Linked DNA regions of Homo sapiens: all the other regions are linked to region 2. The links are contacts of gene promoters, found by promoter capture Hi-C in blood cells and fetal thymus (Javierre and others, 2016). All regions are on one chromosome and are shown on one strand. The core of a region is centred on a gene start or on the middle of the fragment in contact, and the rest is flanking DNA. Distances in the headings are between cores, read along the strand shown.

The links. Contacts are between HindIII fragments. The CHiCAGO score rates a contact against its expected background, and 5 or more counts as called.
Region 1: a contact is called between a fragment that was not itself captured here and the fragment with the promoter of OCIAD2 in region 2, in 1 of 17 cell types (activated CD4 T cells). The highest score is 5.4, in activated CD4 T cells.
Region 3: a contact is called between a fragment that was not itself captured here and the fragment with the promoter of OCIAD2 in region 2, in 10 of 17 cell types (non-activated CD4 T cells, naive CD4 T cells, naive CD8 T cells and 7 more). The highest score is 11.9, in non-activated CD4 T cells.
Region 4: a fragment that was not itself captured here is called in contact with the fragment with the promoter of OCIAD2 in region 2 in 4 of 17 cell types (total B cells, total CD8 T cells, total CD4 T cells and 1 more); the score reaches 6.0 in total B cells.
Region 5: a contact is called between a fragment that was not itself captured here and the fragment with the promoter of OCIAD2 in region 2, in 6 of 17 cell types (naive CD4 T cells, total CD8 T cells, total CD4 T cells and 3 more). The highest score is 6.3, in naive CD4 T cells.
Region 6: a contact is called between a fragment that was not itself captured here and the fragment with the promoter of OCIAD2 in region 2, in 4 of 17 cell types (total CD8 T cells, naive CD4 T cells, total B cells and 1 more). The highest score is 6.1, in total CD8 T cells.

The regions. Positions count from the first base shown.
Region 1 is chr4:48,504,779-48,507,546 of GRCh38, reverse strand. FRYL (FRY like transcription coactivator) reads left to right here. Exons shown (of 64, transcript NM_015030.2): 60 at 1,932-2,000. Among named protein-coding and RNA genes, the nearest start is that of ZAR1, 16 kb to the right of the region's middle. The HindIII fragment of the contact is 1,594 bases long and covers 630-2,223 here.
Region 2 is chr4:48,905,095-48,908,110 of GRCh38, reverse strand. It overlaps OCIAD2 (OCIA domain containing 2), which reads left to right and starts at 1,337. Exons shown (of 7, transcript NM_001014446.3): 1 at 1,337-1,453. RefSeq lists an enhancer at 1,030-1,109 and a silencer at 1,400-1,659. The HindIII fragment of the contact is 6,070 bases long and covers 1-3,016 here.
Region 3 is chr4:48,577,970-48,581,067 of GRCh38, reverse strand. It overlaps FRYL (FRY like transcription coactivator), which reads left to right. Exons shown (of 64, transcript NM_015030.2): 22 at 117-203; 23 at 1,827-2,095. Among named protein-coding and RNA genes, the nearest start is that of ZAR1, 89 kb to the right of the region's middle. The HindIII fragment of the contact is 9,807 bases long and covers 1-3,098 here.
Region 4 is chr4:48,559,995-48,562,694 of GRCh38, reverse strand. It overlaps FRYL (FRY like transcription coactivator), which reads left to right. Exons shown (of 64, transcript NM_015030.2): 33 at 1,059-1,227. Among named protein-coding and RNA genes, the nearest start is that of ZAR1, 71 kb to the right of the region's middle. The HindIII fragment of the contact is 6,143 bases long and covers 1-2,700 here.
Region 5 is chr4:48,617,616-48,620,499 of GRCh38, reverse strand. It overlaps FRYL (FRY like transcription coactivator), which reads left to right. Exons shown (of 64, transcript NM_015030.2): 7 at 1,130-1,226. Among named protein-coding and RNA genes, the nearest start is that of ZAR1, 130 kb to the right of the region's middle. The HindIII fragment of the contact is 893 bases long and covers 1,003-1,895 here.
Region 6 is chr4:48,600,626-48,603,527 of GRCh38, reverse strand. FRYL (FRY like transcription coactivator) reads left to right here. Exons shown (of 64, transcript NM_015030.2): 12 at 140-238; 13 at 1,407-1,508. Among named protein-coding and RNA genes, the nearest start is that of ZAR1, 110 kb to the right of the region's middle. The HindIII fragment of the contact is 934 bases long and covers 969-1,902 here.

The DNA.
Region 1 (2,768 bases), core at 177-2,676, 400 kb after region 2:
ACTAACTAACTGTTTGTTTGAGTGAGTTTTGGCCGATAGGATTCAGCTTCCATCATTGTCCTTGCAGGATTGGTCTTTCTTTCTTTTATACAGGCTACTCCATCACACCCAGAAGTAGAACCTCGACAGTTAAAAATTTTAACCTTCATTTGAACCTTGAATAAAGAAAATGCCGTGACAGGAAGACTGATTGATTAGATGTGAACTGGAGGGTGTTCTGAGCACAAACTACCATGTCTTGTATGCTCTGGCTGGAAAGGTGTGGACCTGTATCTCTCAGGCCAGTGTGCAGCCACAGGACTATATGGTTGGGGTTTGTCTTTTAACAGAATAAAAATCAGCAATATTTTGAATAGTGCCCCCCAAAAGGCTGTATCATTAGGTACACAGTATAAAAATAAGCCATTAAATAAATAATCAACTGAAATTATTTTCAAATTTATTAGTATACTTGGACAAACTGGACAAGATAAGGCATAATTAAGTGTATAAATATTTTAACATTTTGTATGAATAAAGATTAATGCACAGGTTCCATGTTAGATGTCAACTGCATTTTGCTGATACAAAGAAATCCACTGATAGCTTTTGACAATGGCTGCCATCAGCTGTATCTCACTAGAAAAGCTTAACATGTTTTTCTTCAGAGATGCTGTCAAGCAAATAGCCTAAGGGCCGGTGAAATCTGAGAGACTGGAATAAAAGGAAAATAAGGTCAAAGAGATCATTTTTGAAATAACTGAAATGTCAAATTTCAATTCTTTCTTTGTGGGTACAACATAAGCTACAATAGAGAATGTTAAATGTCGAATACTAAAATACTTTCAGAGTAGCTGCTTAATGCAGCTAGTCTGTTTCTCAAAGTCCTAATGATTTCATATATATATATATATATATATATATATATATATATATATATATATATATATATTAGTTGTATTGTTTAATAGTATAATTTAAAAAAAAGAACTTAGAAGTCAAAACAACTGATAATATCAAACTGTCCAAAGCTAGGAGCTTACCTGGAATGCACTTAGCTTTTACTTCAGCTTGGAAATTCTGTGAGTCCAGCGTTCTTTCTTTTCTACTATACCACGGTGCTATTGTTTTATTTATATTTTGCTGAAGAAAATGTACTTTATTTTTGAAGTATTCCTTTTTTTTTATTTTATGTTTTTAGAGACAGGGTCTCCCTATGTTGCCCAGGATGGTCTTGAACTCCTGCCCTCTAGCAGTCCTCCCCGCTCAGCCTCCCAAAGCTCTGGGATTACAGGCAGGAGCCACCACACCCAGCCTGTACTTTTATATCAACATTAGGAATACCCCCAGAGAAGGAAAAACCACATTTGGCTTCTACATCCAGTATTGTTTGGAAATAAATAACATGTTTGTTTGTCATTCATTACTGTCCAAAAAGAAAGAAAAGAAAAACAAAACAAGACTTAAAATGGATCTTGATTGCCGGTTCACAAATTTAAAACTGACACTAGTCTTCTGAGAATTACACTTCTCATAAGCAAACAGACCTACTTAATTCTAAGTTGTCTTTATTAAATTGATCAGAGGGGAAGCACATCTTTCCTTTCCCCGTCTTACGTTACACAAAGGTCAGGCATAGGTTGTAAAGATTTTCATAAAACCTGCAAAATGAAGAATATCCTTTACTGAAATGGAACATCACAGGTCCCTAGAATGGAATGGGTTTTGTTAGTATAGCTGTCACAAGTGTGTGCCTCTTGTTACATTAATGCTATCCCTGCTTTTGTTAGTTCCATATAAATGATTGATTTGGCTTGAATGGAGATAAAAGTCTAGGTCTACAACCAATCCTAGAACTTCAAGTTAACTTTAAGTTTGGTGTTGTATATGGACAGGCTGTTACACTACCCATTTTACTGTGCATATTAAACGTTACTGTTACTTATTTTTAGTGGCTAGATGATTGTAAGAGGACATTTGGTGCCAAAGAAGACATGTATAGGATAAACACAGATGCACAAGTAAGTTTCTTGTTCCTGTTTTTGCAACATACATTTTCTGTATCAGGTAAAACAATGCATGTGTTCAAATATCCTTATTTGATTATTTCTAAAAATAAAGAATATTTGTAAAACTTTTCATTTTGGTTATCAAAACAATCTTTGTAAAAGCTCAATGAAATACTGGTTTCATAATGAAAAATTCACTTTAATAAAAATGAACGACCAGCTTGTGACTGAAGCTTAATAACATCCAATAGATAAGCTTGATGGATATCTGGACAGTCCAGGTCGGCTTTTAAGTTGCATGTGCCTCTTAAAGAAAAATTTGTCCCATGTTAGTATTCTGCTATTCTGTTAGATAAATTGGTCAAGAAAGCAAACCTAAGAATAATGTGATATAATATATCCATGTTAAAGGTAAAATTAGAATTGGATAAATTATAATGTTTTTCTTTAATATAAGGCTCAGTGAAAACAACAGCATTATATTTTCTTAGAAAGGTGCACATACATAAACACATACATTGTAGTAAGTGAGGATAAGTTAGGGCCTACAAATTATTCCAATGGAAGTGTAGCTTCACAGGGGAAAATACATTCATCAACTGAAATTTATTTCCATTTGACATCAGAATTCCAGTCTTTTATATTCTACCTTTGGTTATATTATTACAGATTTCTAGTGTCTGTAAAGGTTATACTATTATTAGGTTATACTATTTATTATAGTAAAAAATTGAAGTTCTGCAAAAACTGCAGTGTTGAGAAAATAATAGTATACTCGCT
Region 2 (3,016 bases), core at 88-2,587:
AGGACTCAGTAAAGAAGCCAGCCAAGACCCACCAAAATCAAGATGGTCATGAAAGTGACCTCTGGTCGTCCTCATTACTCATTAAATGCTAATTTTAATGCATTAGCCTGATAAAAGACCCTCCCACCAGGGCCATGACAGTTTACAAGTGCCATGGCAACGTCAGAAAGTTACCCTATATGGTCTAAAAAGTGAAGGAACCCTCAGTTCCGGGAATTGCCCACCCTTTTCCTGGAAAATTCATGAATAATCCACCCCTTGTTTAGCATAGAATCAAGAAATAACTACCAGTATAATTAGCTAAGCAGCCCACACAGCTGCTCTGCCAGTGGAGTAGCCATTCTTTTTTGTTGTTGTTCTTCTTGTTTTTTGTTTTTTTTTTGTTTTTTTTTTTTTTGAGACAGAGTCTGGCTCTGTCGCCCAAGCTGGAGTGCAGTGGCGCAATCTCGGCTCACTGCAACCTCTGCCTCCGGAGTTCAAGCGATTCTCCTGCCTCAGCCTCCCGAGTAGCTGGGATTACAGGCATAGAGCACCATGCCTGGCTAACTTTTCGTATTTTTAGTAGAGAGAGTGTTTCACCATGTTGGCCAGGCTGGTCTGAACTCCTGAGCTCAAGTGATCTGCCTGCCTTTGCCTCCCAAAGTGTTGGGATTATGGGCGTGAGCCACCGCACCCGGCCTGTTTTCTATACTTCCTTAATAAACTTGCTCTCACTCTACGGACTCACCCCGAATTCTTTCTTGCGAGAAGTCCAAGAACCCTCGCTTGGGGTCTGGATCGGGACCCCTCTCCGGTAACAAGTGATATCGGTATTAAAGGTACCCCCACATGTCAAAGGCTTCCCTCCACAAGTCAGAGTTGGGGAGGGACAGGAGGCAGCAGGGGACCGACAAAGAGCAATGGAAAGAGAAGGCCTGGGAGCCAAGCAGGCCTGGGGTTGACTCCAGGCTCCCTTAGTGGCCTGCACAACTCAGATGACCCGTCTGTGAAGTGCAGGTCACAGTGGGCACCACACACGGCTGCAGAAAGGAGTGCAAAGGTGATGCCCACGCCTGGCCTAGGGCGGGGGCGCAATACATGGCTGTTGCGGCTGTGATTGCTGGAGGAAGGGAGTCATTTGGAAGGCACAAAGGAACTAGAACCTACTCGGTGTCGGGACAAGCCTCAAGGATGGGGCAGGGGTTCCGGCAAGAGCTGGGTTCCAGCCTGGGTTGCCACCAACAGCGAAAGTGACTGCCAGGTGGCAGTAGGGTGACTTCACCAGCTTAAGTGCTTAGCGGGCAGGCGAGGGGGCGGAGCAAGAGAAGAAAACACAAAGGGCCGGAAGGAAGCCGGGGAGACAGGTGGGGTACTCGGGAAGCTGGAGCGGGCCGGCGGTGCAGTCACGGGGGAGCGAGGCCTGCTGGGCTTGGCAACGAGGGACTCGGCCTCGGAGGCGACCCAGACCACACAGGTGAGCCCCCGCCCCGGGGAGTGTTGACGGCGGGAGGGGGTGGCCTCGGGGGAACGCGGCGCCGCAGGGCAGTCCTTCGAAGGCCGCGCGGTGCAGCGGTGGCCGCCCCCCACTCTCCCCTAACTCGGACCCCGGCGGCCCCGGCACGGGCGAGGGGCTGGGGAGCTTGGGGTGGCGCTGGCTGCTTCTGGCCAGGGATGGCAGCGGACTCCAGTAGGCTGACTCCCGGCTTCCCCGACCGCATCAGAAAGTGCAGTGTCCCCCGTCCGCCGTCCAGCCCTGCAGGCGCCCCCCTCCAAGCCATCCTAAGAAGCACCCCCGCCCCCCATGCTGGGGCGCGCCCTCCTCCGCACATTCGTCGGTCAGCACCCACGAACCCACGGGTCCCTTCCCCACCACTGAGGAAACAGAGGGTCCCCGGACCACCCCAGCGTGGGGGGTGGGAGCTACACCTGCAAGGCAAGACCCTCGGAAGGCTTGCTTTTAGGTGCAGACTGAGGACTAAGTGGGTGCCAGGGGACCTGGCCACCGAAGCTGAGAGGTATATTTGCCTCCCAATATAGGGCAGCGGCCTAATGGCTAAGCAAAGATAATCTAATTTGGCGTGGTCAGCAAAGACTTCCTGGGAGTGCTCAGGAAATGGAAGGTGTGCAGGGGCTTTATGGACGTATCCCTCATCCTCATCCTCATCCTAGTCTTCATTCCTGCAAGAGCCCCTCACCATTGTTGTGTCCATTATGCCCAATTAACAGTGGAGAAAGCTGAGGCAGAGACGGATTAAGTCATTTGCACCAAAGGGATCGCAGGGGTAAAGAGTCACGATTTGAACTCTGGTCTCTCTGACCCCAGTACTTTCCCGTGCAGGGCACCGTGCTGCCCCTGTAATCACATTAGACACCTGTGATGAAACTTGGTGCGAGTACGGGTCCCCTTGGCTCAAATGCCTCAAAGTTTAGTAACTGATGTAGGAAACAGAATTGTATATAAGAGGTTCATTTTGCAGAAGAAAAGCAGAGGTAGAGGTAGAGTTCAGGGCTGCAGAATGCAGTGGCCACTGGGGGCAGGAGGAGGCTCAAAGTCCACCTGGATTATGTCCATCATTGCCAAATCCAGGGTCCACTTTTCTAAGCCATGTGATGGTGTTGATGATTCACTCCCTCCTTCAGAAATTCCCTCCCCTCTGTATCAGCTATTCCTTCTCAGTCATTTCCTTGGCCTGCTTTTTTTTTTTTAATCTTTCTTCTCTTTTCGATATTCCCTTGGGCTCAGTGTTCATATTCTCCAGTACTGTTTTTAGACACATTTATTAAAGTTCCCTGCTTTAACTCTCATCTCTATGATGGCAGCTCCCAACTTCATCTCTCTAGCCTACCCCTGTTCTGGAACTCTAGACCCAAATCGTCAAATATTAACAGTGGCTAATTCCACTGTTTGCCCCCACAGGCACCCAAATCCAACATTTCCAAACCCAAATTTAGCATCTCTATCAAAGATGCTAAATTCCCACCAGGGTCTTTGTTCACGTCCCTGTAACTCCTTGTCTGGACTAGTGTACCACCTTCC
Region 3 (3,098 bases), core at 1-2,500, 330 kb after region 2:
TCTCAAAAAAAAAAAAAAAAAAATAGTGCTGAAGTGAATTTTTAGTGTTTACTTGGGTTTGGCTACTTTGCTTAAACATTCCTAATTTTTTTAGACATATGATGTCTTTTTTACAGGGTGATGATGAATTAGCCATAGATGTGATGGACAGGCTAAGCCCATCCATTCTTGAGAGCTTCATACATCTCACTGGGGCTGATCAGGTAACTATAGTGACTTCATTCTACCCAATCTTGTTTTGAGACTTATGACAGACACATATGTATACATGTACATGTGCATACATAAAATAACTTCCTTAACAAATGTAATGAGTTAGAAAGTATTTTTGAAAAGTAGAAAATGCTTAAGAGTAGTACTTAAAAAGTGACATTCATTTATACTTGGTTAAGTACTCTTCTACATAGAAATAAAAATTATTTTATGTTTGTAAAATTCTCATCCTTCCAATCTAAGAAGTTTCTGTTAAATGGAATCTTTATGCTACCGTTTGCTCTTTATTATGGCATATAATATTCGTGAGATAGAAATACTTGTGAAAATGCTACGGGAAAAAAATGGTGATACTCAAAGCAAAAACTTACACCCTGCTTTTTTGGCAACTGTTTTTTGTGTATCACATAAGTTTAAGTATAGTGGATTAAGTACATAGTGTTTTATACCAATGTCATATGTAATTTGACTCATTAAAATGGAGAGAAACACTTTGTCCACAAACATATTACTAACAAAGTTTATGCAAACTTTCTTGCTTGGTCTTGGTTGGGTAAAAGGTCATATATTAAGATTCCAAAGTTGATGTAAGAATAGCTATAAAACCTTACTATTTAAAAATATTTCCTCCTATTTTAGAATACATGGTCAAGAGGTTAATGCATAACATTAAGAGCTTGCGGCATAACACCTGATTCTTATAATTCATGAGTTATATGTAGCCAAGGGAGGTAATAAGGTTTTATAAGCCTAAGAGATTATTAGAAATCTGTACAATTCCCCCCCGCCATGATGCTACCATGATGCTAAACTTTTTAAAAAACTAATTTTTAATTTTTATTTATTTTTAAATAGATACAATTGTACATATTTATGCGGTGCAATTTGATGTTTCCATACATGTCTATATTGTATAATGACCCAATCAGGGTAGTTAGTGTATCCATCATCTCATGTGTTTATCATTTATTTGTGGTAAGAACCTTTAAAAGCCTCTCTTCTAGTTATTTTATGAAAGGATCTATACAATTCAAAACATTTTGTTTTAGATATTAACCATAAATTATGAATTATTCCAAAAAGAGAGTAATGGATGACTTGTTTCTTGTGCCTAAAGCAGTGCTTAATATACTTTTCTTTGAACATAAATGTTTATCTCTTCAGTATAAGAGTTCAAATATTGAACAAGTATTTAAGAATATATACCTCTGGAGAAGAGCTCATTTTTGAGTCTGTTCCACACATACATAGATACAGGTCAACATGAAAGTTAATGGTTCACTCTTTAGTTCTCTGGCAGCTTTTGGTATACGATGAAATTTGGATATTTATTTAAGAATTACTTAAATAGTGGTCCTGAACTTCTTTGGTTTATAGTCCTCTTGAGAATAATGAAAACAGTGGAATCCCTCTCCAAAAAAAAGACATGTATGCACATACAGAAACTTTACATGCAGTTTCAGGAATTCTCTACTCCCTTCAACCTACCATGGACTTTATATTATCTTGTTTTAGAAACTACTAATACACCACTTTCAGTTTAAAGCAATTTATATGGTAAAATTTCAAAGTTATTGAAATGTGTAATAATCAATTTTTTCCTCTCCATATAGACTACTTTGCTCTATTGCCCTAGCTCGATAGATTTACAAACTTTAGCAGAATGGAACTCTTCTCCTATTAGCCACCAGTTTGATGTGATTAGTCCATCACATATATGGATATTTGCACATGTGACCCAAGGCCAAGACCCATGGATTATAAGTCTCTCCAGTTTTTTAAAGCAAGAAAATCTTCCTAAACACTGCTCTACAGCTGTGAGCTATGCTTGGATGTTTGCATACACAAGACTTCAGTTGTTGTCCCCTCAGGTCGATATAAAGTAAGTTATTTTCCTAGTGTAAATTTAAAAATGTATAGACTGTCAGCTTTCATATGTATTTATTTGAAAAATTCAAAAGTATTACAGATTGGAAGGCCCATAAATAATATGTGATACTGCATTGATGTCTTAAGGAGGGAGAAGAATGTTGTCAAGGACATAGTCTCATAACTTCTTCATCCTTTTCATGTAATACAGTCTCACCAAATTTTAATTATTAATTTACTTAATAACACTGTACTTGGTACATAGTTGTGTCCATCGAATCTGTGTTAAGGGAAAAAATTGGGAAAGAATCTAAGGATGAGTATGGATGTAGACACAGAAGTTTGTAGATAAAGGGTGAGAAGCAGAGCGAAACTCAGCTCAGTGGCCTTACTTTTCCCGATGACAGTGTAAGGAAGGCCACCTTCTGGTGGGGAGTGGTAATAACACACTGAGTAGGAGATTTGAGGATGTTGGTAAAGATTTGGAATAACTGATGATGAAATGGAGAGTTGACCAAGGTCATTATAAATTTCAGTTAGTTTTTGTTTTGTTTTGTTTTTTTGCTCTTAAATACAGAGGAGAATTTTTGAATCTGGGTTTGGGTTCCTGATTTCTCCTTACAGAGTACACCACTGATCACATTGAATGGAATGAGTCCTCTCAGCATATAACTTGCCCATGTAAACCCAGCATCTGGATTGACCTATCACTGGAGGCCTACATTAAAGGCTCTTCAAACCTGACTTCACTCTGTACCTTTTTTCTTACTTTCTATCAATACTTTCAAAGTTGGAACCAAATTATCCCCTCAGAGTTCATTAAGTGTGGTTGATAGTTTCCATTTTGTGAGCTTTTGTTCACATGAGCGTAGGATACCTTTTTTTTTTTAATTTTTGCATATCCGTATCTAATATAGTTCAAATTCAATCTTATTTTTTAAAATCTCTTAAACTTCCTACCCAGAGTAGTCCTTCTTACTTTTGGATTTGAATATATATATATGTATATATATTTC
Region 4 (2,700 bases), core at 89-2,588, 350 kb after region 2:
AGACTATTCCTAAGTGTATTGTAGAAGGATTATTTATGATAATGTGTGTGTATGTGTATGAAGGTACTTATAAATATGTGTCCATGTAAGTATTTCTGTTCAGCAGATGAGAACAATGTGTGTCCAAATTTTTTTGGAGAGCCATGTGAAAAATAATTAGCTCTTTTTATCATATTCTCATGTAAATTTTCTTTATTAGGTTGAGGAGAAATAACTTAGAAAGTTAACTTACCAAACACGGATATATTGTTAGTATGCAATACTTAACTAATTCATAATAGGGCAAGATTCTTCCATCTTAACCAAGGGCTAAGAATAGGATTCAAGTAGGTGCTTTTTCCAAAGGCTCTGAAGTGGTTCTGATGCCAGTAGATCCATCTTAGGAATTATACCCTAATGCCTTTGTTAATTAAGAGGAAAGTTCAGCAGTACAGCTCTTTAAATAGTGTAATGTCGAAAGGTCCTCCTTGAAGGGTTTTTTTTTTTCACTTATGCATATATTGTACTACCATATTTTTGTGCGAGAAAAGTGGTAAATCTTTTTCAAGTAATCGTATATTAAGTTGCTGGAGTTATTTTCAGACTGTGTTACTAACCTGGATCATTGGCATTAAATACGAGGAATGTAAATTCTTTTAGTGAGAAAGAGTTTTTGTTTGTTTTGTTTCATTTTGTTTTTGAGATAGGGTCTCACTCTGTCACCCAGGCTAGAGTACAGTGGCACAGTCATGGCTCACTGCTGCCTCTACCTCCTGAGCTCAAGTGACCCTCCACCCTCAGCCTCCTGAGTAGCTGGGACCACAGGCACACACCACCACATCTGGCTAATTTTTTAATTTTTTTGTAGAGATGAGGTCCTGCTATGTTGGCCAGGCTAGTCTGGAACTCCTGGCCTCAAGTGATCCTCCCACCTCTGCCTTCCAAAGTATTGAGATTACAGGCATAAGCCACTCCACTCAGCTGGGGAGAAGAGTTTTTTTAAAAATTATAAAATTATAGTTAAACTTTAGAGAACCCATAAAATCTTAACCTAAGTTGATGGAATCACATTCCTATAGATTCTGGAACCGAAGATGTTTCGCTATGCTCACAAATTGGAGGTTCAGAGAACAGATGGAGTACTCAGCCAGCTGTCTCCTCTACCACATCTCTATTCTGTTTCATATTATCAGTTGTCCGAGGAACTAGCAAGGGCGTATCCTGAGCTAACTCTCGCCATATTCTCAGGTATGATCAATGAACTGGTTAGTAGTTTCTATTTGTCAATCATTTCTTCAGAAACAATTTTTAGAAAATTATAAATTTATTAAATTACAGGTTAAATCAAAACCAGACATGTCTTTACATAGGAAATATTTTTTTCTTCAATAAGAACTCTTAATTCTGATCAGTCACAATATTTAGGTTTTTCTATCAACGGCGTCCTTATAGGGTTTTATACCTGACCTTCCCTTCGCTCCCTACTCCATCAAAAAGAAAAAAATACAAGAGGGACGACTTTTCACATGTGACTTAAAAGTATTTCTTAGTAGACATAGGACTTCTTGAATACATTGTATTTTGTGTATTGGCATATGTTTAATAATAAAAATAGGCAGGGATAAAGTTATAGGCAGTTTTCCGTGAGCGAAACCCCTAACCATAGGAGCAGGTGGTACAGTGCCTCGAGCAAAACTCTTTCTAGTCTCCCACATGTTGCTTGTCGCCTACATCAAGATCTTGTTCCAGTGTAAGTACTGGCCATGCTCCAACACTGGGATCTGGGAGATTGCAGAGTTCTGCTGTGGGTCCTTTATTTCATTTGGGCTCAAGAGATAGTGGACTTAGCTGGCTTGGGATCTTTGCACAGCACCTATTTTAGCAATAGAAATAGTTTATTTCCCATCCCTAATTGACCTGAGTGGGAGAAAAAAGCAATAACAACAACTTAAATTCTCATAACATTTAGTTCTTGAAAGCAGTTGACCTGTTTGGTTTGCCCTGGTAGTTGGTAGCAATGCCTCTTCCTTTTTCCCAACCCCCGCATCCGTGACAGCCCTTCCAAGATGAATATGAGTGATCATCAACACAAAATAGCGGCCGCCGTGAACACAGATTTTGTGGCTGCTGAGCTGCTGCTAGAGGCTTTTGCACAGAAAGTAGAGGAGTCCAGCTGGGTCTCAAGAGATCATGTAACTGTTTAGAATGTCATGTCATCGCCTAGGATGTGTGCTGGTACAGGTGTCCACCATGCCCACACCCCCACCACCTTGTCATTCTTCCTTCAGTTCTCTCTTCAGACACTCTTGTCCTTAGCATCAGCTAATTTTAACTCCTTTGCTTAAGATAGTTCATTCTAAACCAAAACAGCCTCTCAACCTGACAAATTCCATAGCTAACCTACATTTTCACTTTCACTGTTTCTAAGGCAAGACAAACACAATATTCATTCAGAATTTTACTGCACAGATACAGGTATCAGCATAAACTTTGCCACTTTAAAATTTGAGGGCCCTGATCCTTTCTTTCTCCAGATTCAATGCAATGGTCTCTAAATGTTGTCAGCTCTGAGGCCCTTCCCATTCTTGCTCCTCACATCCTTTCCCTCCTTCACACCTGCTCCTAACCCCTTCCTCACCCCTGTGCCTTGCCTCGAGTATATACACTCACTATTCCATATTCTCAGTCCTCCTGCATGCCTTAGATCTTCACAGATGGCCT
Region 5 (2,884 bases), core at 200-2,699, 290 kb after region 2:
GGAGAAGGATAGTTCACACATAAACTGTAAATCAAGAGAAGGTACCAGTTAAACTAGATGTAGCCCTACAGTACTCATACTGGGTATCATGCAAAAATTAGTAATACAAAAACCTATTTAGGAGTGCCATTTCAGCAGTTCAGTGAGGAGCTTTTAATAGTCATAAAGTTAAGAAAATATTCAAAGAAGTTCCTGTTCATATGGTTTATGAAGGGAGGCAATTATTGTAATACAGGAAGACTGCCAAAACCCTGTGTTATAATAGTACTATGATACTGTTCTTGGAGCTCAATTCCTAGAACTTGTTTTCTTCTCCTTCAAATTTCCCAGGATGATCTTGTCATGCATGTAAGAGCCACGTGTGTTCAGGTGATTGTCCATGGTTTAGTGTTGGACTTCAGTAGATGCCACTTGTGATTTTTCAACTTAAATTTGTGAGAAGGATACCTTGTACTGTATTTTCATGTTGAAAAGTTAATACTTTTGTTTCAGTTCTTAACAAAATACTAGTAATCAAATATGGAACAATGCTACATTTTCTAAATGAAATTTAAAATACTTTTCTTCTTCTTACTAATTCTTTTAGGTTAAGTTTAAATGCTAACAGATATAATAGTGAACTCTGAATAAACACCCCGTATATAAAAAGGGAAAGAACATAAAAACATGTTTTTGCATATGTTGGATTATTAAAAAGCTTCAGACCAGGCACTGTGACTTATGCTTGTAATCTGCTTTAGGAGGCTCAGGCAGGAGGATCACTTGAACCCAGGAATTTGAGACCAGTCTGGGCAATATAGGGAGATCCCTTCTCTAGAAAAAATAAAATTAGCTGGGCATGGTGGCGCTTGCCTGTAGTCTAGCTACTTGGGGTGGGAGGATCACATGAACCCAGGAGGTTGAAGCTGCGGTGGGCCATGTTTGCAGCATTGCACTCCAGCCTGGGTGACAGAACGAGACCCTGTCTCAAACCAAAAAGACAAAAATAAAAAACAAAAAGCTTCATATTAACAATTGCTGTAGCACATTTTACATAGTAGGAAAACAGTAAGCGACATGAGCTACTAACTAACAGGTATTTTTAAAGTCATAATCTTAATGCAGTACTAATTTTGGATTCTTGTTTCAGGGATGAACAGCAACGTGAAAGAGATTATCTTCTTGAAAGGAGGGACTTAGCAGTAGACTTCATTTTTTGTTTAGTTTTAGTTGAAGTTCTAAAGCAGGTAAGCTCTTTTATTTCTGCAAAGTCTGTATTCCTTATTCTTTGCTTACTGTGCCTTCGTGTTTCAGTTACTTTAAGATGCTGTGTCTAGAATTTTAGCCCACATAAATTAAATTCCTGTAATTTCATTATACTTCTTTCAGTTGCCTGGGGCTTTCCTGCCCTGTACCTATCTGTTATCTCCTCTATTTTTTACCTTTGTATGCTTATCCAAGATATAAAATCTTGTTAGCAAAATGGAGCTGAATGGAAATTGTGTTAATATTGACCTTTAGCTGTAAATGTAGTTTGCCTGCCATTCAGCTACTTCAGTCCCTTATTCCACTTTATTTCTCCTCTAAGCCCCCAAGCCTGCATTCCAACATGTAATAATTGTGCACTTTTAGTAGAGGCATGGGGTGATTTGATAAGGGTACTGAATTGTCATGTGCAAATGTTTTTCAGTCAAGTGAGAATACTTCAGATAATAAGTTAGGAATGTTTATTCATTCAATGAGTATTAGAATGCCTACTGTGTGCTGGCACTGTTTTAGGCAATAAACTCATGAGCTTGCACTTGAATGGGATAGATACACAGTAAAGATATGAATATATAATATAGTGTCAGGTATAGTCTTAATATTTTTATTACTCCAGATCAGTATAAATGCCTGTGCTGAATTTGAAAGCTTTTTTTTTTTTTTTTTTTAAAGATCATGGTCTTTAAAGTTATATCATTCAAGGATGATCCATGTATTTCCAGGCACGAACATTGTATTCTTTTGAAACAAGTTAGGAAGCCTAAAGGTCAGAGTCATATTTTGGATATGACACATTTGGACAGGGAGTTTTGTTTTTGTTACATAGAAAGGAATATGTGACAAACAGCAAATACAAGATATAAAATTAATTGACAGTCTGTTTTTCTCATAGTATAAAAGTACTTGAATTATATAATCAGTTTTATTTAGCTTTTATTTTTACAAGGAATATGAAAAGACAGTTCTTTGGTACTCTGAAATCTGCAAATAAACATAATTTTAAATATGTAAAACAGAAGAGTTAATTAAAGGTTAAATCACTTTAATATATGCATTTCATAAACGTTTTTTGGTAGAGGTAGGAAAGAAATCTCCTCTGGGAGTTGTGCTAACAAGCCAAATTTGACTTCTGTGATCTCTTGGTTTAACTGAGATACTAAGACCTTAAGGCAGCAGTCACTAGGATAGGAAGAGCTAAGGACTGGATATGGCCACAGCCCAGCAATGGACTCTGACTACTGCTCATTGTGATTTATCCCTGGTGTATCTTGTGTGCTAAATGTATTTCATTTAAGTGGATTGGTAACCAGTATTTGTACTTTTTTGCTTAAACAGTATAGGGTTTCTTCCTCCAGCCAGAGAAATGGCAGACTCCCTACATTAGCATTCAGGAACCCCAGTGACCTGGCCCCATTGTGCCTTCCTCCTTCGTTCATTTCCCATGGCATCCTTTTCTTAGATGTCAGTCTCGCTCCTCATCCTAAAGTTGCCCAATTGCACTGGCTTCAGAACTACAATTCACAGGCAACCCTGTGGAGGCATTTTTCCCATCTCTTCCCCCTCATCCTCCCTGTCCTCTTCCCCTCCTTGTTGCCTTTGTAGCCCTCCTCCTCCTCTTTTAACACAGTCCAGATAGGTC
Region 6 (2,902 bases), core at 186-2,685, 300 kb after region 2:
TTGGCACATTGTAGTACTTCAGTGAGAGTCTCAGTGAATTATTAACCAATTTCAAACCTTACAGAAAGTTCTTGTATTCTTTGTATAGTTTAATCTAACATCTGTATCATTTTCTTTGTTTGCATTATCTTTTTACTAGGCTGTTAAAAATGAAGTGAATGTTCCCTGTTTGAAAAATTTTGTGGAGATGCTTTATCAGACTACTTTTGAACTGAGCTCGAGAAAGAAGCATTCATTGGTATTAAGAAACATTTCAAACCTTTTCATATTTAATTGGGATTTTTAGTAATTGATTTATGAATTCAGTGGAAATTTAAGAGAATGGTAAAATCTGAAATTGTAAAATCCCTGAAGTGCAATACAAGGGCAAGTTTTACATACGTATGTTTTGCGTGGCTCTATTTAAATGTTCTGTTCTTAATTTTACTAGCTCTGCATTTGTTGAGTTGTTCAGACTTCCTTCTAGGTAGTCATGCATTGCTTAATGATGGAAATATGTTCTAAGAAATGTGTCGTTAGGCTATTTCATTGTGCAAACATCATTGAATGTACTTACACAAACCTAAATAGTATAGCCTACTACACACCTAGGCTATATGGTATAGCTTATTGCTCCCAGACTACAAACCTGTACAGCATGTTACTGTACTGTGGGCAGTTGTAACAGAATAATATTTGTGTATCTAAACACGAGAAGGTACAGTAAAAATATGTTGTAACCTCAGGGGATCACTGTCATAAAGTGATTTTAGCAGCTGTTTTCTGTCTAATTACGTCTTTTCTAGTCAGAGATTGAAGGCATTTTTTTCTACCTGTCTATTTCACATAACTTTTACGTAGCTTGGAGAAAGTTTGGAGAATTGGTGAAATATTTGACCTTCTAAACTAGAGATACAGTAATTCTAAACATGGATTGTGCCAGGCATTGAACTAAGTACTTTGTACTTTTTTTTTTCTTACTTTAAGCTTCACAACCCTATAAGATATTTGTGATTATTGTCCTCTACTTTATGTGTTTGGAAAGTGAGGCTTAGAGTACCTAATGTAGCCATCGTGAAGTTACACATTTGACAAACAGAAAGCTAACATTTTAATGCCATCTGTCATCTGATCCCAGGGACTAGTCATAACCACAAAATGGATGAGAGGCTAATGGGTTGAGGGAGAACTAATAGCATATTCTAACTCAGAGAGGTATGATCAGTCAAGGAATTTTCCTCGTAGAAAATTTACTCTTTATCTTTCTGTGTTAGATTATTCTATGAGATTATATTTCTTATTACGAATTGGAAAACTGCTTAAAAGATTTGTTTCCTTGCTTATGAGAATAAATGAAATATAAAATTTAAAAGTCCAGTGCTTTTCGATGAAAAATGTTAATTCTGTCTTTTCCCCGTCTCCTATAGGCTTTATATCCACTAATTACCTGCCTTTTATGTGTCAGTCAGAAACAATTTTTTTTAAATAACTGGCATATTTTCCTACAGAACTGTTTGTCACATTTAAAGGTAAGATGTAATCACACTTCTGATATGTAAATACTGACTGGTATATTTTGTTTATGCATATAAATTGAACAGTGCATAATGAAACTTTTGTTACTATTGGTATACTTGAATAGCAACACTTTGCCACATTCCTTTTCTTATACCTACTGTATTTCTTCTATAGGGAATCATGTATAGATATGAGTAAACTTTTGATTGAAAATTTAGTTTGTCCTAATGAATGCAAGATTATTGTACATTTTTAGTGATATTTATATTATCTTAAATCTAGGAATATTTGTTAATTCTTTTAGAATTATAGAGTATTAATCTCACAAAACCTTCTAGATACTTATTTTGTCTTTTGAGAAAATCAGTAATGTTGGTTTAAGTCTGAACAATATGAGAAAAAGCTTTGATAATATCACTAAAATCACATTTAAGTATGCCCGGCCATATCTAAAAGTTGGTACTGGATCTGCACAGATGTAAAAGCTCCTGAAATGATTCTGACTTGAATGAAAGGGTACTTGTCATTAACACTATTTGGCACATCCATATTCAGCCTCTCTTAGTCCTGAAAACAAAACTGTGAGAGATAGAAGGATCATTTTCTTCCCAGGATGCTCTGCTAGCAGGATCCTCTTTTCTTCTTTGGGTAGGAACACAATTCTGACAGTGTGGGAATATTCTTCAGCTGCATGTCATGCGAATGCTTGATTTGAATATTCTTTTGATATATACTTAGATGAGCCTATTTGAATATTTGCTTGCAAGTTATAGAAATATTGCAGACATGACATTCCATTTCCTGGTATTCCTCTAAGTTAGACTTGAGACTGAAAACCTTATACTTTGAAGATAATGGAACCGAGGCAGATAGAGAAAGTGACTTGTCTCTGGGTATGCAGCTCGTTGTGCTATTGTAGGAATAGGACTGGATCTTCTTTCATATTTCAGGAATGATCCACTGGATGTTATCCTGTACGTCTTTTTCATGATTTTATGTATAATTTTCAAAACTGCCTCAGTTTCTTAGGTATACGGAATATATACTACTTTGAGAAATGTTTTTGTCTATTTTCCTTCTAGATAAACGTTGATATTACTCATGTTTGGATGAGAATTTATATGCCTTATTTGACTATTTATGAAAATTCCCAGGACCAAATCAAACTGATTGAACTCTTTATGTCATGCAACCAGGAAATAAATTTTATTTAATTAATTACATTATACTTATTTCTGTTCTTATTTTTGGTAATTTGTACAGATATAGGGACCAAAAGAGAATTGATCATTTTTCTGGATAGTATGATTTTTCATACGTTCATTAAAATATTTTTAAGATATGCATTTAAATGTTTCTGGAAGGCTGCTTTGTTTCATGACAGTTCATACTTTTCTGTTGCTTG